Regions from separate parts of the Homo sapiens genome. Here region 2 is linked to region 1. Evidence: promoter capture Hi-C in 16 types of primary human blood cells and fetal thymus (Javierre and others, 2016). All regions are on one chromosome and are shown on one strand. Each heading gives the region's core, a stretch centred on a gene start or on the middle of the fragment in contact. The rest is flanking DNA. Distances are from core to core; before and after follow the strand shown.

Region 1 (7,281 bases), core at 1,833-4,332:
TCAACATTTCCTCGCTCCTTAGAGGAAGCAACCATATTAAACAGTCTCTGGGAAGTAAATGAAGAGAAAGCAATGGCTGGAGGGCTGGAGGGGAAGGTGGGATGGGAGAGGGAAGAATAAAGCTGAATTGAGACTACTAAAGAAGGGAGGGCGTTGGAGGTAGGTGAGAATTAGACTTCAGAGAAGGAAAGTGCCATTGCTCTGATTCTGCCAGCAGAGGGCACATTTGTGCCAATAATCAGACCCAGGCCGCAGACTCTTCCAAGTGCACTGTCTTAGAATTCCAAAAAAAGATCTCAGAGACCATAGGTTAAATAGCCTGTCTTCACCCACTCAGTCGTTTTGGGTACTCAGTTGAAGGAGATCAAACTTTCAGTTTGTTTTTGTTTTTGAGGGTGAGGGTGGTAGTGATGATGAAGTCACCTTTAGCTATTTATAGTTCTTCTTTTTTTTTGAGATGGAGTCTCCCTCTGTGGCTCAGGCTGGAGTGCAGTGGTGCGATCTCAGCTCACTGCAACCTCTGCCTCCTGGGTTCAAGTGATTCTCCTGCCTCAGCCTCCCAAGTAGCTGGGATTACAGGCACGCACCGCCATGCCTGACTAGTTTTTGTATTTTTAGTAGAGACTGGGTTTCACCATGTTGGCCAGGCTGGTCTTGAACTCCTGACCTCAAGTGATCCACCCACCTCGGCCTCCCAAAGTGCTGTGATTACAGGCATGAGCCACCACGCCCGGCCTATTTTATCTTCTAATTGCTTCCTTGGGTTGGGAGGGGATGGAGGAGGACAAAAGATGAGGGGTCTGGAGGCATAACTAGCCTGGGCAGAAGCCAACTGTGAGGGGATACCTTTTAGGGTCTCCACAGGATGGAAAAAGGACATGGTCAGGAAGAGTAAAGAGCTCAGAAGGGGACAAAGGAAGTTACAAAAGCCACTTCCTGGTGCGTGCCTGTAGTCCCAGCTACTCAGAGGCTGAGGTAGGAGGATCACTTGTGCCCAGGTGTTCAAGTCCAGCCTGGGCAACATAGTGAGACCCCCATCTCTAAAATAAAGAAAGAAATAATTTTTTAAAAAGCCAGCTAGGCACAGTGGCTCACGCCTATAATCCTAGCACTTTGGGAGGCTAAGACAGGAGGATTGCTTGAGCCCAGGTGTTTGAGACCAGCCTGGGAAACATAGTGAAACCCTGTCTCTACAAAACATATGAAAATTAGCTGGGCGTGGTGGCATGTACCAGCAGCCCTAGCTACCTGGGAGGCTGAGGTCGAAGGATTACCTGAGCCTGGGGAGGCTGAGGTTGCAGTGAGCCAAAATTGTGCCACTGCACTTCAGCACAGGCAACAGAGTGAGACCCTGTCTCAAATAAATAAATAAATAAATAAAGCCACTTCCTCAGGTAGCAGCAACAGGGTTGTGGTGGCTGCAGCAGAAGTGCTGCAGCAACTGGTTCCAGAATCTAAGCAGAAGGTGGAGGAAGATCATGCAGCTACTGAAGAAGGGCCTGGGGAAATGATAGGCTTTCCCCAAAGGGGCTTTCAAGCCTGTGGCCCTGCCCAGAGACTCCGCTGGAACAGTACAAATGGCACAGTCCAGATCCTATGTGGTATGTGCTCCCTTTGCAGGAAATCTCAAGTAGAAACCTCAGAGAGCCTGTAATCCCAGCACTTCGGGAGGCTGAGATGGATGGATCACGAGGTCAGGAGATCGAGACTATCCTGGCTAACACGGTGAAACCCCATCTCTACTAAAAATACAAAAAAAAATTTAGCCGGGCGTGTTGGTGGGCGCCTGTAGTCCCAGCTACTCGGGAGGCTGAGGCAGGAGAATGGCGTGAACCTGGGAGGTGGAGCTTGCAGTGAGCCGAGATTGCGCCACTGCACTCCAGCCTGGGCAACAGAGCGAGACTCCGTCTCAAAAAAAAAAAAAAAAAAGAAGAAGAAAAGAAACCTCAGAGAGCCTATATGTGCTTCTCAGGGAGACATCGATGTCTATCCCGCACAGCAGGTTGAACTGAGCATCTCAACAGCAAATGGAGGTTAAAAGGCAGATCCTGGCTGGGCGTGGTGGCTAGAGAATAACTCCTTAGAGACCAGATCCTGGCGGTGGCTCACGCCTGTAATTCCAACATTTTGCGAGGCCAATGTGGGTGGATCACCTGAGGTCAGGAGTTTGAGACCAGCCTGGCCAACGTGGTGAAACCCCGTCTCTACTAAAAATACAACAATTAGCCGGGCATGGTGGTGGACACCTGTAATCCCAGCTACTCAGTAGGCTGAGGCAGGAGAATTGCTTGAACCCAGGAGGTGGAGGTTGCAGTGAGCCGAGATCGCACCACTGCACTCCAGCCTGGGCAAAAAGAGCGAAACTCCATCTCAAAAAAAAAAAAAAAAAAATGCAGATCCAAGTGTTTGTCTTTTATTAAAACTGCCAGAGCTCAAGAGGAAAGAATAGGGAGTGAGGCAGACAGAATAATTGTCAAGTCTTCCCCACATCATTCCTTTGTAGGAGGTACTGGGTTTAGTTAATTTGGTCCCTTAACCTGCCAAGATCTAGCCCTTACCGAGAAAAGACCAACCTATCCAGGAACTTTAAAAGAGCAGTTCCACTGTGAAGACTTCCCTTTTTGTCCCCAAATATAGCACTTTAAGCCCTCCCTGCTCCAAATACACCCACAGGTCTCTCCACTCTGCCCTGGATTGGCTCTGTGTGGCCCTCAGGGCATGTTCCCCAGACTCTCTCTCTCTGACTGAATTCCTATCCAATACTTGCTGTCTACTTCCTGTCTCCCTCTCAGTCTTCAGTTTCTCCCTAAGTGCTTCTTTGGATCTCAGGCTCTAGGTGCAATGTGAAGGGGAGTCCCTGGGCAGACTGATCCCTGGCTCAGACAGTTCAGTGGGAGAATCCCAAAGGCCTTTTCCCTCCTTCCTGAGCCTCCGGGCAAGGAGGGAGGGATCTTGGTTCCAGGGTCTCAGTACCCCCTGTGCCATTTGAGCTGCTTGCGCTCATCATCTCTATTAATAACCAACTTCCCTCCCCCACTGCCAGTGCTGCCCCCACGCCTGCCCAGCTCGTGTTCTCCGGTCACAGCAGCTCAGTCCTCCAAAGCTGCTGGACCCCAGGGAGAGCTGACCACTGCCCGAGCAGCCGGTAAGTCTCCAGCTCTATCGTTAGAAAGGCTGGAGCCCACTGTGTTGACTTCTGTGTCTGTGTCTACAATTGTGATTCTTGATCCTGGGGGAGTCTCCCCTCTCCTCATCTATGCTCAGCTCCCAGCTGTCCAGTTGGAAGGAGAGGGGAAGGAGAGTTGGAAGGAGAGGGGCCCAGGAGGTTGGGGGGAATGGAGATGTCGGGGGAGGCACTGGAAGAATGGGAAGGGAGACCCCACTAAGTCAGTAGAGTTGCAGATGTATTTTTTGAGACAGGACTTAGAAGAGGACAGCATTTCACTGAGTGCCAACTTCTCTTAAGAAGGGATTGGAGTCCATCTTATCCCAGTTTGTCCCTTTCCATTGCCAGATCCTATTACTATGTTTCTGCCCCACCTCAATTCCCCACTGCTATGATATTGCTGAATTGACGTGTCGGGATTTGAATGCTCCCTACCCTTCCCAGTTCCACACCTGCCTCCACTCTGGGGTCTGTGGCGGGAGTGATTGCAGGAGCAGGGCCATGACTTCCCAGGCCATGTTCCAGCTGGCCTGATGAAGGAGCAACAACCTCTCCTTCCTATGGAGAGTGTTTTTGGCTGAATCTCCTCAACCCTGGCAGAATATTTCTCTGTCCTCCTGGGGACTGGGGGAAGACTGAGGAGAGACCAGAGCCTGGAATCACAGCCCCAGTCTGATATCCCAGTGCAAATAAAAACTTCAAATCATGCCAAGCCAATGAAACCTGGGTGCATTGCCCTGCTTGTGTTATTGTTTTTTAAACACTCCCCACACCTAGCTATGTTCCTAATTCCTGCACTGACTCTATGAAAAACAGCTCACAACAGGTTGGTAGACAACAGGGGCTGGTGTGCATCTATACTTCCTGTCCTGTATCCCAAGAAAAGAGAAGCCCTAAAGCGCAAGTTTTCACCTTTTGGGGAAATACATGCTTCTTTGAAAATCTGGGTCAGGTGAAGTGGCTCACCCCTGTAATCTCAGCACTTTGGGAGGCAGGAGGACTGCTTGAGCCCAGGAGTTTGAGACCAGCCTGGGCAACATGGCAAAACCACATTTCTACAAAAAATACAAAAATTAGCCAGGCACGGTGGTGCGCACCTATAGTCCCAGCTACTTGGGAGGCTGAAGTTGGAGGATCACCTGAGCCCAGGGAGGTTGAGGCTGCAGTGAGGCATGATTGTGCCATTGCACTCCAGCCTGGGCGACAGAGTGAGATCCTGTCTCTAAAAAAGAAAAAAAAATTTTTTTGTCCCCTCAAGCCCTTAAACCCAGGTTAAGAAGTGCTGCTCTCCTACAGACACTCACTCTTCCCAGTCCCTGTCCATCCACCAACTCCTCCTTCCCACCCTGTCCAGGCTGAATCCACCTCCACAATGCCGCTCTCAGGAACCCCGGCCCCTAATAAGAAGAGGAAATCCAGCAAGCTGATCATGGAACTCACTGGAGGTAGGACATGTTTGCATCTCCCTAGTGTGGGACTTCTTAAGAGCATCCCTAAACCAAGAGTCCCAGAAATATATATCTTAGGGTGAACAAACAAGAGAAATTAAGTGGTGGGAAGGCGGGTGATGGGGAGTGGGAGAGGGAAGATTAAGAAGGGTAAGGAGAAAGAGAGAAAAGATTCAACACCTTCTACCCTTTTCACTTCATAATCTGAGACAATACCCTGCCATGTTACCTGCACAGGTCCAGGACCACAGGACCCATGAGTCAGTGAGGTATATTTGAGGAAGAAAATATAATGGAGACTGGCACAGACTCAGGTCTCAATAAGTGGTTAATTTCCCTTACTTCTTTCCCCAGAGCTAGGGAGCTTGTGTAAGTACTTAAAATGGAAAACTGCACAGGCATGTTTCCTGGGGGTGGGCAGGGGTGCATGCATGTGAAGAGCTCTTCAATACCTAGAGACTCTTTGGAGCCAGAGCTCACTGAGGGAAAGAAAAGGGAAAGTAGTTAAGACAGAAGTCTGGGCCAGGTGCAGTGGCTCACGCCTGTAATCCCAGAACTTTGGGAGGCCAAGGCTGGTGGATCGCTTGAACTCAGGGGTTTGAGACTGGCCTAGGCACATGGTAAAACCTCGTCTCTACAAAAAGTACAAAAATTAGCCAGGTGTAGTGGCATGTGCCTAGAGTCCCAGCTACTCCAGAGGCTGAGGTGGGACGATCGCTTGAACCCGGGAGGTGGAGGCTGCCGTGAGCCATGATTGCGACGCTACCCTCCAGCCTGGGTGACAGAGTTCATCCTAAGATATATTTATTTTGTCTCAAAATAAATAATACAAATAGGGCTGGGGCTGTGTCTCATACCTGTAATCGCAGCACTTTGGGAGGCTGAGGTGAGAGGACCACTTGAGCCCAGGAGTTCAAGACCAGCCTGGACAACATAATGAGACCTCATTTCCATTAAAAAAAAAAAAAAAAAAAAAGTCCAGGCGTGGTGGCTCATGCCTGTAATCCCAGCACTTTGGGAGGCTGAGGTGGGCCAATCATCTGAGGTCAGAAGTTCAAGACCAGCCCGGCCAACATGGTGAAACCCTGTCTCTACAAAAATAGAAAAATTAACTGGGCATGGTGCCGGGTGCCTGTAATCCCGGCTACTTGGGAGACTGAGGGAGGAGAATCACTTGAACCCAGGAGATGGAGGTTGCAGTGAGCTGCAATCGCGCCATTGCACTTCAGCCTGGGAGACAGAGCAAGTCTCTGACTCAATAAATAAATAAATAAATAAATAAATAAATAAATAAATAAATAAAATGTAGGCTGGGCGCCACGGCTCACGCCTGTCATCCCAGCATTTTGGGAGGCCGTGGCTGGTAGGTCAGTTGAGCTCAGGAGTTTGCGACCAGCCTGGCCAACATGGTGAAACCCCATCCCTACCAAAAAATATAAAAATCAGCCAGGGATGGTGGTGCAGGCCTGCAATCCCAGCGACCTGGGAGGCTGAGGCAGGAGAATTGCTTGAACCTGGGAGGCGGAGGCTGCAGTGAGCTGAGATCGCGCCATTCCACTCCAGCCTGGATGATAGAGCAGGACTCTGTCTCAAAAAAATGAAAAAAAAGAATAAAAAATAAAAACAAATATATATATATATATATATATGGCATCTGTATTTGGACTCCACACAAGATTGGCCTCTGGGTTTTTCCTGATGCCATGGTTTCTCCAATGGCCTCCATCTATGATGTTCCTTTACTCCTTTTGCTCTGTACCCCATGCCCGTACCTCTTTTACCCCATTGGCCTCTCCACTCTAGTATTCCCATTATCTCCACAGTGCACCCCAGTTCCCATGCATTCTCTCCAAGTCCCAGGAAATCAAAATCCCTCACAAACTAGACAGCATTTGTTCCCCTAAATGACCTCTGCCAGGACACACATACACACTTAGTTGTGGATGAGGTCTGCATTCTGAGCCCAGAAAACCCTACTTTCCTCTTTCCCTTGATTCTTCTTCTTTGCCTCCCTGAAAGGTGGACAGGAGAGCTCAGGCTTGAACCTGGGCAAAAAGATCAGTGTCCCAAGGGATGTGATGTTGGAGGAACTGTCGCTGCTTACCAACCGGGGCTCCAAGATGTTCAAACTGCGGCAGATGAGGGTGGAGAAGTTTATTTATGAGAACCACCCTGATGTTTTCTCTGACAGCTCAATGGTGAGTCTGGAACTTTATCACTATCTCAAAGCCTGGTGCCTGTTCTGACAGCTTGTTAGTAGGCCCTGAACCTCCAAAATGCAGTCAACATCCCCTCCCTGAAAATTTATAAATTTGTTAAACCCCCAGATATATTGAGCCCGCAACAGCTCCAGGGTGAGTTACAGCCCACCTCTGAAACCCAGTTTTCATCATAGAGCCACTGAAGGGTTGGAGAATACCACACCCTTAGGGAGAAAATTCCTTCCCAGTAAAGGTAAGTGTTAAAGATAGATTGCCAGATAAAACACAGGATGCCCAGTGGGGCAGTCCAGTCTTGTATTTTGAAGTTGAGATACACAATGAATAATTTTTTAGTGAAGTATGCTCCATGCAATATTTGGGACATAAAGATAAAAATTTAAAAAAATTTTAGAAAGAAGATAAGGCAGCCAGGCATGGTGGCTCACACCTGTAATCCCAGCACTTT
Region 2 (6,994 bases), core at 2,656-5,155, 280 kb after region 1:
GCTTGTTAATTTCTGAAAGAAAAAAAAAACAGTTGGGGTTTTCATAGTGATTGCTTTCAATCTGTAGATCAATTTGGGGATGAGCAATACATTTGATTGTATTATTGTCAGAAATATGTTGACTTTGGAAGTAACAAATTAGCTAATTAGAAACAAGTCTTTTGGAGTAATGAGAAAGGAATTTGTTGAGCTAGTGCATCATTTAATGGAGGCCTTTGAAACTCAGACTAAGGCATTCAAATTTTATTAGAAAGATATTTTTATAGTTTTTTTCCCTGAAATTGGTTTGCATATGTAGATGATTTTATTATGATTCCAGTACTATTATATTTTCCATACCACTAAAGAGGGCTTTTTCCATACACAAGTGGATGTTTTAAATCAGTCAAAAAGAATGCCTTTCAAACAGAGTGGCCACTGCTAAGCACTGTAGGAGAATAAAAGAACTGTAACACACACACACACGGGAGGCTGAGGTGGGAGGGTCACTTGAACCCGGGAGGCAGAGGTTGCAGTGAGCCGAGATCATATCATGCCACTGAACTCCAGAGCAAGACTGTCTCAATAAAGAAAAAAAAAAAAAAAAAAAGGCCGGGCATGGTGGTTCATGCCTGTAATCCCAGCACTTTAGGCGGCTGAGACAGGTGGATCACCTGAGGTTAGGAGTTCAAGACCAGCCTGGCCAACATGGCCCTGTCTCTACTAAAAATACAAAAATTAGCCGGGCGTGGTGATGGGTGCCTGTAATCACATCTACTCCAGTGGCTGAGGCACAAGAATCACTTGACCACAGGAGGTGGAGGTTGCAGTGAACCCAGATTGCGCCACGGCACTCCAGCCTGGGCTACAGAGTGAGACTCCATCTTAAAAAAAAAAAAAAAGAAAATTGTAACATACAGCCCTTGCTCTCAGGTACCCTAAAGTTGAATGGAGATTAATTATGTTTAAGGAGGTGACATCTGTTATTTATCCTTGCTTGCCTAAGACCTTGAAGCAAAGTACTAAGTAGACCAAGATCATGAGCGATTTCTGGAAGAACAGCTCCCTATTAAAGACTTGGCCTAACCCAGCTTATTATGTAGAAAGAGTCTGTCATTTGCAAGTGGGATAGCTGTCTCAGTGCAAATTCACCCAAAACTCTCACTTGGGAAAAAAAATCCAGAGAGAAATCCTTACTCAGTAGTGCCACAGTAGTTTTATTTTGAGAACCTTTATTACCTGTAACACTGCAACTTTCAAAAAATATTTCTCAATATTTATAATGTTTCTTTATTCATATAAATAAAAATTTTAAAATTTGACTCTGGTAACTATTTCCTAAGCAAAGGGCTTCCCAGGGAGAGTGGTTATGCGTGTGTATATATTTTAATTGTTTTGAAATGATCTCGAATGTATAGAAAAGTTGCCCAAATCGTGTAAGGAAGTCCCATGTCCCCTGCACTCAGATTCCCAAATAGTTAACACTTTATTGCACTTGTTCCATTGCTCACTGTGTGTGTATGTGTGCAGGTGTGCATGCATGTGCATATGTGTGTGTACATGTGTATGTATCCCTTGTTAGTCTTTTTCTGGACCTTTTGAAAGTCAAGAGAGCAAATTGAAGAGATGGTGTCTCATCACTCCTAAACACACTAGTGTTTATTTTCCCCTAAACAGGGACACTCTCCTACCTAACAACAAACAAACTTCCACATCAGGAAATCAATATTGGTACAACACTACCATCCAATTCAGATGAGATTGGGCATGTTCGGGGTGGTATGCGATTCACAGAGCTAATTCACATTTTTCCCACCGTCCTAACAATGTTGTTTTCCTTTCTGGTCCAGAATGCTATACAGAGATACATATTGAATTTAGTTGTCATATAACCTCAGTCAGAGACAGTTCCCAGTCTTTCTTGTCCTTGGATGGTCTACAACCTGAGTTCCTTTCATGGTAGGAAAACCAAAAAGGATGCTTTGTGTGTGTGTGTGTGTTTTTTTTTAGTGTGTTTCACCAGGAGGCTCACAATGTAGACTCCTCCCAACACTGGTGATGTTAACCATGATCACCTGATCATGTTGGTTGCGTCCATTCACTGTTTCCCCCTCTGTAATCAAGTAGTATTCCATGGAAGCATTCCAAAATCACGCCAGTATTCTATGCCTCATAGAACATCTACCCACCAGCCTTAGCGTCCATTGAAGACTCCTGCCTGAGTCATCCTCCTCAGTAGTTGTCAAATGGTAGTTCTCTATTTCCATCCTTCTCGCTACACTTCTGGGTTGGCATCCTACTTTGAAAGAGTTTTCCTTTTTCTCTGTATCAACACGGACTTGCATATTCCTATTTTATTCAATGGGTTGTAATCCGTTATCGTCGTTGTTTACTTCATGCTCAAATTGTCCCTTATTTGGCCCATGGGAGTCCCTTCAAGCTGGCTCTTAACACTGCAACAATTTAAAGTATATATACTGCTAAAATTCATCCGTGTTGTGTGTATGGCTGCAGTTCATTAACTTTGACTGCTTGTAATATGCCATTTTGTGAATATGCCACAGTTTATTGGTCCACTCATCCACTATTCCTTCGACGGGCACTTGGGTTGTTTCCAGGTTATTGCTATTGTGTTTTGCTATTCTAGCTCTTTAATGTTAAATTTTGAATATTAAAAATTTGTATTAACATCATAAACTTCAGGTCTGTTTATTGTACAAATATTGAGCACCTAGAAGCAGGGTCATTTTGCACTCTCATCAACAGGGCGTGACGGGCTCATTTAAAAAATATTGCATATTTCACGGAGAAATATTTAAATGATGTTTTCAAATCAGTTTAATAAAGGCCTTTTTCTTTAAACTTCCTTTTGCTTTTTTCCCTCCTATTATAGAGAAATATTGAAATCAAAGAGTCGAGAAAGCAAAATGTAAAGGTGGAAACCTATGCACTTAAACCCAACTCTTGGCAAGGTAAAGCATCCGCGGAAACAGCAGGCTCTCGAAGTGAGGAGGCTGCAGCCGGCGCTAGGGCGCAGGCGCAGAAGCTCAGCGTCTCGCTCCCTGCTCCCGGCCCCAGAGGGTTATCGCGAGTCTTGGAATAAACTTGCTCGTGCGATGGCCAAAAGTAAGTTCTCGCGAGAGGTAGTTGGTTGCTATAGTTGTCAAAAACATAACTGAGGCTGCTGCAGGTAAGACAGTGATCCCTCCTGAAGAAACTCTCTCTTCCCGGCCTCCCCACCTCAGCCCTGCGGCCACACCACAGCCGTCACCCCGATCTTCTGCTCCCTTAGCTAAGGCCAGGCTGAAAACCCCGATATTTAGACCGAAAAGCCGCTGGCCCGGCCAGGTGCGGACTCTGCCGCCAACCCCAGCCCGGCGACCTCCACAGGAGCGCGGACGTAGACCTTCCTTTACCGCTTCTCGTCGGAGGCCTCCTCATTCTGCGCTGACTGCGCTTGTCCCCAGACCAGACTCAGTCACATCGCCTCCTTCGTCTAACCTTTTTCTCACTGGACTCTCCCCTTGCAGCTTCTTCCGAGCAGATGACAAGAAATGCGTGCCTTGCCGGGGGCAACAAGAGTCCCCACCCTAGCTGCCCTGACTATAACTTTAGTCCTATATCTTGCATTCATAATTCAAACACGACGCGAACGCCTGTTGTGTACAAGACATGGTGCCAGGCACTCTGGGCCCGTAAATATGCGTGAGACAGGTTACATGCCTTCAAGGGTGTAAATGAGCTCTCAGGACAAACGCTGCATATTAATAATACCATTTGTGCAGTGCTTCATACTTAAAAAGCTTTAATATCTTAGGGGATATTCACAATAAATGTGAAACAGGTTGGAAGTTATCCATTTTACAGAAGGTGAAACTGAGGCTTAGAGAAGTTAGGCATTTGCCTAGGGGCACATAGTTGTTAAGTAGGAAAGGTCTTTTGAATACCCAGTCTTCATAAACAGGACAGCTTGTGGTAATGCCACAAAAGACGTGTAAAGTGCTAAATGAATTCAGAGGAAAGGCAAGTTTTTCCGACTGGGAAGCTTCATGGACTAGGAAGCATTTGAGCTGGATTTTAAAGGATGAGTAGGATTTGCTGTAGAGACGGAGTGAGGAGAAAGGGAGAGATAATTCCAGGGGGAAGGAAAAATGCAAAGGTTCAAAAGCGACTAAATGCAGGTAATCTTTGAAAAATACTAAGCAAGAGCATAAGCTAGAAGAGGGGAGTTGACTGGCACTGCAAGATCCTAGAAAGCCCTGAATGTAGTACTACATTTAACTACAGTTAAACTGTAGTGTTACAGTTTATTTGGTAGGTGAGAGGGAACAAGACAGTGATACGATCAGATCTGTACTTTAATAAGGTATTTATCTGCTTGTCTCTTCTCATTTTCTCCCTATTTCTTCTTACTCCACCACTGCAAGCTACTTGCTACTTGCTATGTGTGTTGTTTTGCCTCTGAACGTTTTAAAATCTGTTCCCTTTCTTGGAATATCCTTCCCTTTATTAAGACATAGTTCCAGCGTACTTCCTCCAAGATTTTCCTGGCATGCATATGTATTCTCAAATCCAGCTAGGTCCCAGCTTCATTCAGCACTTCCTTGCTGTATGACTGCTGGTAAGATAACAAACTTCTCTGAAGCTCAATTTTTTTCAATCAAATAGAGATTTAAGAATCTCTTAGAAGGGAGGCTACATTTAAGATAATAAATGCGAAGCACACTTGGCACACTGGCTATAATCAGTTAATTTCCTTGCTTCTCTCATTCTTTTTATTTGTAAAAGAAAAAATAAATTTCCACCCCCCTTTTCCTCCCTGTGTGTTTCACTCCTCCCTTCTTTCCTCTGTCAGAGCACCTGTCTCACAGATTATGACTCCTGGTCTAGTTACACGTCTCTCGTCCTCACTAGATTTTAAATTTCTTGAGGTTAGAGAGTTCACATCTTATCTCTTGTATCCTCAGCACCCATCACAGTGCCAAGCTTAACAAGTTTTTTCAATGAGCAATTCTGACAAAAGCAGGATGAATTAGAGTGAGAAACTGGAGTCAGAGACACCAGTTAGGAGGCTTTTGTTACAGTCTAGCAGAAGGGTAATGAAGGCCTAATGCCATATTATTGAAAAGGAAAGAAGACTGATACAAAAGGGCATTTCAAATGTACATTTGACAAAGAAGTTGTCAGTGCCACTAAAGCCCTTAAAGAGCCCAGAAATATGTTGTTGAACAAATGATTTGACACTTTTAGGTGACTGGAAAAATGCTGGAGTAGCTGAGAAGAGGCAGGATAATTATAAAGTCTGAAGGCTGTAAGATGTTGTTTTCTCTTTTGTATCACCAAGTACACTTAGCATAGTATGTCCTCAGTAAATGTTTGAATTGAGTTAGAAAATAAGGCCTTTTCAACAGGCACAGTGGCTCATGCCTTTTAATCCCAGCACTTTGGGAGGCTGAGGTGAGTGGATTGCTTGAGCCTAGCCGTCGAGACCAGCCTAGACAGCATGGTGAAACCCTGTCTCTACAAAAAATACAAAAATTAGCTGGGCGTGGTGGCGCATGCCTGTAGTCCCAGCTACTCAGGAGGCTGAGGTGGGACAATCACTTGAGCCTGGGAGGTTGAAGCTGCAGTGAGCTGTGATCACACCACTGCACTCCAGCCTGGGTGACAGAATGAGAGCCTGAAAAAAAAAAAAAGGAAGGAAGGAGAGATAAAAGACCTTTTCCAAAAAACAAATATCCAATTTATTATCGAAATTGTTTGTGCCCTTAGTATTGTAAAATTGACAGTATATCTGACTAAATAAGAAATACATTAAGACCTTTTCCAGTGGACTACCATTTTGTGTGGCTGCTTCTTTCCTGCTCTCAAAATATATTTTTGTAAAACTGAGAAGTTAAATAATGTTTGAAGGGAGCTTTGCAGATTAAAAAAAACGGTTACCAGAGAACACTGTGAACAGTGTATGGCAGCAGTCCCCAACCTTTTTGGCACCAGGGACCAGTTTCGTGGAAGACAATTTTTCCACAGACTGGGGGCAGCGGGGATGATTCAACCACATTACATTTACTGTGCACTTTATTTCTATTAGTATTACACGGTAATATATAATGAAATTTTTTTGTTTTGAGACGGAGTCACTCTTTTGCCCAGGCTGGAGTTCAGTGGTGTGATCTCAGCTCACTGCAACCTCTGCCTGCCGTGTTCAAGCGATTCTCCTGCCTCAGCCTCCCAAGTAGCTGGGACTTACAGGCATGTGCCATCACACCTGGCTAATTTTTGAATTTTTTAGTAGAGATGGGGTTTCACCGTATTGGACAGGCTGATCTCGAACTCCTGACTTGGTGATCCGCCCGCCTCGCCTTCCAAAGTGTTGGGATTACAGGCGTGAGCCACCGTGCCTAGCCTATATAATGAAATATTATACAACTCACCATAATGTAGAATCAGTGGGAGCCCTGAGCTTGTTTTCCTGCAGCTAGACAGTCCTATCTGGGGGTGATGGGAGACAGTGACAAATCAGGCATTCGATTCTTATAAGGAGTGCACAACCTAGATCCTTTGCATGCATCAGTTACAATAGGGTTCGCACTCCTGTGAGAATATAATGCTGCCACTGATCTGACAGGAGAGAGAGCTTAGGTGGTAATGCAGGTGATGCAGAGTGGCTGTAAATAGAGATGAAGCTTTGCTTGCTCGCCTGCTGCTTACCTCCTGCTGTACAGCCCAGTTCCTGACAGGCCACGGGCTGGTACTGGTTCATGGTTCGGGGTGGGGACCCCTGATGTAGGGTATGGGAGGTCAAGGTGTTCCTACTTTGTCTTGTGATACTTTGTGCTTAATGGGTTAGTTACCTGTATAAACATCTTTAGCGCTACCAGTGAAATCATCCTTGTGACCAGCTCCCTAAAGCACTGCCTGTCCAACAGCAAAGGTTGGATATGGGGAATAAAACAGTGCTGGACTATGGCATTTCCTTAGGTTTTCCCTGGTATTGGTTATGATGGAATATGGG

What was found. The method cuts DNA at HindIII sites, captures the fragments that hold promoters and counts their contacts. A CHiCAGO score of 5 or more calls a contact.
Region 2: a fragment that was not itself captured here is called in contact with the fragment with the promoter of MYOZ1 in region 1 in 2 of 17 cell types (naive CD8 T cells and fetal thymus); the score reaches 5.4 in naive CD8 T cells.

What each region holds. Positions count from the first base shown.
Region 1 is chr10:73,637,275-73,644,555 of GRCh38, reverse strand. It overlaps MYOZ1 (myozenin 1), which reads left to right and starts at 3,082. Exons shown (of 6, transcript NM_021245.4): 1 at 3,082-3,145; 2 at 4,521-4,611; 3 at 6,634-6,812. The coding sequence starts at 4,539. RefSeq lists an enhancer at 409-458. The HindIII fragment of the contact is 20,057 bases long and covers 1-7,281 here.
Region 2 is chr10:73,354,889-73,361,882 of GRCh38, reverse strand. CFAP70 (cilia and flagella associated protein 70) reads left to right here and starts at 3,019. Exons shown (of 28, transcript NM_001367801.1): 1 at 3,019-3,105. RefSeq lists enhancers at 2,825-3,350, 3,195-3,414, 3,351-3,876. The HindIII fragment of the contact is 242 bases long and covers 3,785-4,026 here.